Regions from separate parts of the Homo sapiens genome. Here region 1 is linked to region 2. Evidence: promoter capture Hi-C in human tissues and cell types (Jung and others, 2019). All regions are on one chromosome and are shown on one strand. The core of a region is centred on a gene start or on the middle of the fragment in contact, and the rest is flanking DNA. Distances in the headings are between cores, read along the strand shown.

Region 1 (2,700 bases), core at 34-2,533, 450 kb before region 2:
CTGTACCTTGGTTTCCTCAAAGGTAGTTGGGATAATAGCACTATATCACTCAGAATTTTTGTAAGGATTAAAGGAATGAATACCTGCAATGTGCTTAGTAGATTGTAGGTCTTATATTAAGCACTGAACATTTGTTATTTATTTGATTACTACCACCACTCCTCTTTTCCTCCTCTTCCTTTTCTTCTTTCCCCCACTTGAGCCAAAGTCCTATATATTGCATGATGTTTTGATATAGGCATTTTAATAAAGGGCATTCTGACATGGTCTAAATATAAACAATTAACCTTTCAAAAATTATTACTGCATCATATTCAAAACTTGTACTTTCACCAAGCCTCACACTTTGAGGCTAATTCCATCTTTAAGCCTTATACTAGGATCTGTGGTACATTTTGTAGAAATTACTAAGTAATACAAAAATAGCATTTTTACATATTTGACTAGCTGCATCAAATTGGGATTACCTAAACACTTCATAACATCACAACTACCTGAAAAATGAAGAAAGATGTTGTGTCACTGTGTTCTATTTTGGAACTGTGATGTTTGGAAGAGAGCAAAGTAACTTCTAAGTGAAGGTAGGGCTATGAGAGAGTGTTGCATTAAAACTGGTCTGATGCAAGATTCCATAACTAGGTAACCTTGTGATTTTAGAACATCAGTGAAAAGCCTTTACTGGTGGTGCATCTGTACAGGTCTGTAGCATCCTCAATTCTTGCCTCCTCAACAGAAAGAATTTGACTGAGGGGCAGAAGGCAGAAGGAGAGACCAAGGCAAGTTTTGGGGTAGCAGTAAATGTTTGTTAAAAACATCAGAGCAGGAGGGAAAAGAAGTAAAGTGCATTTGGAAGGGGGCCAAGTGGGCGACCTGAGAGATCAAGTGTGCAGTTGGACCTTTTGACTGAGTTTTATATGTAGGCATAATTTTGGGGTCTTGTGTCCATTCTCCCCTGATTCTTCCCATGGGGGTGGGCTGTCCACATGTTCAGCAGCCTGCTAGCATGTGGGAGGTGAGCATGTGTAGTGTGAGCATAGAGTTGTATGCATGCTAACTTAAGGCATTCTCCCTTACCAGTCAAATGTCCCTAGAAGTTCATATCATAATTAAACTCTGTCATTTTGCCTCTGAATGCACATGCTTAAGCCTGCTTGCCCAACTCCTGAGGTCTTGTCAGGAAGCTGCTGATCACCATTTTCAGGTTTGGTTTTTTTTTGTATTCGGAGACTGAACCTGGCTGGCACTGGCTGTGACCAATTATTATTTTAGAGAGACAGTTAACAACCACTGGACCATCACCTGATGGTTGCCTGACATATCTGGGTGTGGGATGTGGGGCATGGAGCCTTCTCCTGCCCTACTCATGCCTGACTATCTACCTTGTGTAACATTTCCCCCACCATGAGTTCAAGACCCCAATTATTTGGGGAATATAGACAAAGGTCAGTCTTCTATAACTGCTTCCTGCTGACAGAGGGGTAGTAGTGGTTGTTCTGTGGATTTGGCCTCTTGCTAGCTGTCAGGGCAGTAGTAGCCAGCCAGGTTCAAGGGGGACAGGGGGAGGATTTCAATTCTGTCATGTCTCACTGATGGGCAGCCTAGGGGTCCCCTGTAGAAGGGTGACTCTTGAGTATTGAGAAGACAATATACCTGCCTCTGGTCCCTGCATTTCTACTTTTTCTTAGCCCTGTCCTCCTTATTCTGTTCTTCATTATAAAAGACTGAGAAGGCTAATTTGAGAATTTCCTGCATAAGGGTACTGGGTTCCAAGATTGACTTTTGTAATTTTCTCTCATTCCATTCTTAGGCCAAGTATTACAAAGAAAATAACTGCCATAAGGGGGCTGGACTTCCCTCCCTTTAAATATGACCTTGAAGGTCTTGCAGCATATTGAAAAGGGAGTAGGAGTGATTAGAGAAATGGAGACTACAGGAGGAAGTAGGAGGAAGCGAGAAAAACCTCATGAAAAGCCTTCATATGCTTACAAAAACAGCAATGCTTGGATTTGAGAGAGCAATGTTTATTTGCCCTCGACATAAAGGAGGAACCTCTGGAGGCCTTGGGACTTAGGGCAAGAACTTGCTAATGGTAAAGGAAGAATTTCCCCTCCCCTTAAGAAGTGCTGACTCAAAAAAAAAAGAAAAAAGCAAGTAGGTGAGATCCTTAAAGTGTCATAGCCCTATGCAGGAGGACAAACTGTTTCAAAAACCCCAGAAAAACTTGGCCCTAGGTTGTGACAGGAACAAAAAGCATATGTTAAATCATAAAGCACTGGCAGAGCTGGGGTTTCAATTAGTGTCTTTTTTGGCAATGTACCAACAGATAGGGACAGGATTGGAGGTCATCCAAGCTTGTAGGATAAAAACACCTATAAATTTTGGGGGATGTCTGCAAGGGAGCTCTTATCTTTGCTGCTGCACAAATGCAATAAGAGCCATGGGTGCATGAATAACAGGAAGTGTGTGTTTAAGAAGTCACATGGCATGTGAAGTAAAAGAAGAGGCAGACTTGTCTTCAAGCCAGACAGTTTGGTAGGTGTGCAAGACAATTTCAGATCACACAGAGAAAACAGGAGATACAGGGTGCAGCTTCTTGTGAAAGAGCCATTTTTAGTTGAAAAAGCAGAGGAAATCCCAGGCATTGCAGTTTTAGGCTTTAGCCCTATCACTCTCACAAACCTCCTGTTCAGGAGGGCCATT
Region 2 (2,706 bases), core at 15-2,514:
AGCTGTGCAAGAAGACCAGAAAGAACAAAGCTCAGAGGTTCCTTGAGCCTGGTGCCTTTAGGGGCCTGAAGAAGAACAGATCTCACACTTTTTCTTTTGCTTTGTATTTAGAACTCTGTTGGGAGAAAGATAAAGGTAGAAGGATGCAAAATTCTAACAATGGGAGAAATGACAGCTGCAAGGAGAGGGAGGGGGAAGCAACTCTTCTAAAACATAAAAGGGTCATATGATATTTATGAAAAAATTGATTATTTCAAAAAGATTCACAATCCCATTCTCTAACACATAATCTATTTTTACTTTCCCGCATCCTATAACTTGGATCTTGATAAGACTCGATTCGTTGTTTTATGTGGTTTGCAATCTCAACAAAACAAAATTTGTGTTCTTTGACAAGGATAATGCATAATCCTGACTTCAGTCTTCCCTTTTAGTCAGAACCTACCTATTTAAGGTTATTTTCCATATTAACTATTGATGATCAAAATAAGTCTAACTCGTGTTTTTCCTAGTGTTTCATAATTTTAGTTACAGAAACGATGCAGATAAAATTAATCTAACATGCGTCTTCCTGACTCTAGTACGTTGAATCTGGCCAGAAAAACCACATTTGCTCTCTACGTAGGTAATATAAATCCATCATTAGCGAAATTGCTGCATCCCTTTGGACTGGGTCTCATTAGCAGAGGTTGGAGTGGCCACTGGCCGGCACACGACACTTTAGGCCAGCAGGGGGCGGGTAAGCTCCAGGGCACTCGCCCGAGCAGCAGGGGGCGTGTCTTCTGCTTCCTTGACGGACAGCTAAGGATGCGGGAGAGGATGAGGTAATAGGAGCCGGGGCAAGGAAGGAGTTGGGGTGCGCGCGCGTGTGTGTGCGACTGTGAGTGTGCCAGTGCGTGCGCAAGCCCCGAGACAATGCGTGTCTCCAGTTCGCGCTGCGGACACTGATCATGCTGCATTAAGGAAAAAAAAAGAGAGAGAGAGAGAAAATTACATTTGGGGGAAGGAGGCTGCAAAGTTGCGGCTGGGCGACAGTGGTGGTCCCGGGGCCGTGTCATGGCGGGTCGCTTCTCTGCATCAAGGAACCAGGGAAACACACGCGGGCGCGGGTTTGCCTTAGCGCCCTGCTTGGGAGGGGTGGTTCATTCTGGAAGGAACTGAGCAGAGCCACAGGCAGGGGGAGCTCTCCCAGCGGCGGGGACTGCAATTCGTGCGGCGAAGGGGTGGGGAGGGAGGGAGAGAGGGGAGGGGACCAGAGCGTGCCATTCCGAGCGCGGCCGTGCGGCGAGATCCCACCCCGGCGTCTGCAGAGGCCGAGGCGCAACTGGTGCGAGGGCTGGGTCCTTGCCTCGCCGTCAGCCCCAGCTCGCGGCCGCCGGGGCTCGGGCCGCGCGCCCGCCGAGTGGCTTTTGCAAGGCGGGGGCCTGTTTGCAGAGAGCCGGGCATTTGCATGAAGCGACTCGACCCCACAGAGCAGCGGCAGCAGCAGCGGACCCCGGCGGCGGCGGCGGCGCGCGGTCCCAGCCAGGCGGCCCCGGTGTCCCGGCCCCGGTGGATGCACGGCTGGGGAGGAGCCCATGGGCCGGAGCTGAGGCTGCCCGGGGCGGCGGGGCGCGGGGCAGGGGGCGCGGTCGAGGCCCGGAGGCGGCGGCGCAGGAGGAAGCGGAGGAGGTCGGGCGCTCGGGGCCCGGGAGGCGGGCCGCGCAGCGCCGCAGCCCCGGGCTCGCCATGCTCCTGGCCTCGGCCGTGGTGGTCTGGGAATGGCTGAACGAGCACGGCCGCTGGCGTCCCTACAGCCCAGCGGTGAGCCACCACATCGAGGCGGTGGTCCGCGCCGGCCCCCGCGCGGGGGGCAGCGTGGTGCTGGGCCAGGTGGACAGCCGTCTCGCGCCCTACATCATCGACCTGCAGTCCATGAACCAGTTCCGCCAAGACACGGGTGAGCCAGCCGCCCCTGACCCCGCCCCGCCTGCTCCCACCTTCCCAACCTGCCAAGGTACCTCCCTCCCTGTGAACCCACCTTGGCCACCTAGTCGGCACTTCTGTGCAGCAGTGTCACCAAGAGGTGGTGGTGGGAGGCGATTCACTCCGCTGAATCCTCGCAGGATCCTCCCTCCCCCTTAAACATCCATGCAAATAGTATCAGTGTTGTGGTTTTGCAAACCCAGCTTCAACCTAGTCGGTAACAATCCACTCCCCACCCCTTTCATGCCCCCGCTTTTCAGCAGTTGGTGGCCCTAAGTCTTTCTATGTAGAAATTCTAGGGCCGCCCCAGACTACAGGCAATCCCAGCCCTTCGCAAAGGCTTCCTGCCCTCATCCCGTGGCGGCCGGCACCTTGGCTGACCTGACCCTGTTTTGCTTCAGGCACGCTGGGGCTTGCCACACGTCCCCTCACCCCCGATCTCACTGCCTCTGCGTCTCCTGTGTGGGATGCCTCCCCGCAGCTGGGTCCTGGGTGTGGGAACTGGGGGAGGAAGAAGGGATTCCCCGGAGGTTCTCGCTACAGTCGGGTAAGGGAAGCGCCGGGCTCCCTGGGAGGAGAGACTAGGGCTGGGGTACCCTGGACGCCGCGGCATTGGCGAATGCCTCTGCTACACACTACATGCGCGGAAGCAACAGGCCGGAGCAGATGGAGAGAGGAGGGGGAGGCTCGGGGCTTCGGAATGCATGGCAGGGAAGCCGCTCCCTTTGTCTGCGGAGGAGG

What was found. Contacts are between HindIII fragments. The study calls those that stand out against the background at their distance.
Region 1: a contact is called between a fragment that was not itself captured here and the fragment with the promoter of DTX4 in region 2, in 1 of the 25 tissues and cell types used here (bladder).

What each region holds. Positions count from the first base shown.
Region 1 is chr11:58,724,865-58,727,564 of GRCh38, forward strand. The region is part of intron 1 of GLYAT (glycine-N-acyltransferase); the gene reads right to left. Among named protein-coding and RNA genes, the nearest start is that of GLYAT, 5.7 kb to the right of the region's middle. The HindIII fragment of the contact is 6,338 bases long and covers 1-2,700 here.
Region 2 is chr11:59,170,868-59,173,573 of GRCh38, forward strand. DTX4 (deltex E3 ubiquitin ligase 4) reads left to right here and starts at 1,265. Exons shown (of 9, transcript NM_015177.2): 1 at 1,265-1,939. The coding sequence starts at 1,729. It overlaps LOC124902601 (basic proline-rich protein-like), which reads right to left and starts at 2,578. Exons shown (of 2, transcript XM_047427951.1): 1 at 2,398-2,578; 2 at 1-1,863. The coding sequence starts at 2,578. The coding sequence ends at 1,055. RefSeq lists enhancers at 402-942, 1,029-1,323, 1,951-2,706, 2,222-2,331 and silencers at 1,202-1,771, 1,832-1,881. The HindIII fragment of the contact is 18,272 bases long and covers 1-2,706 here.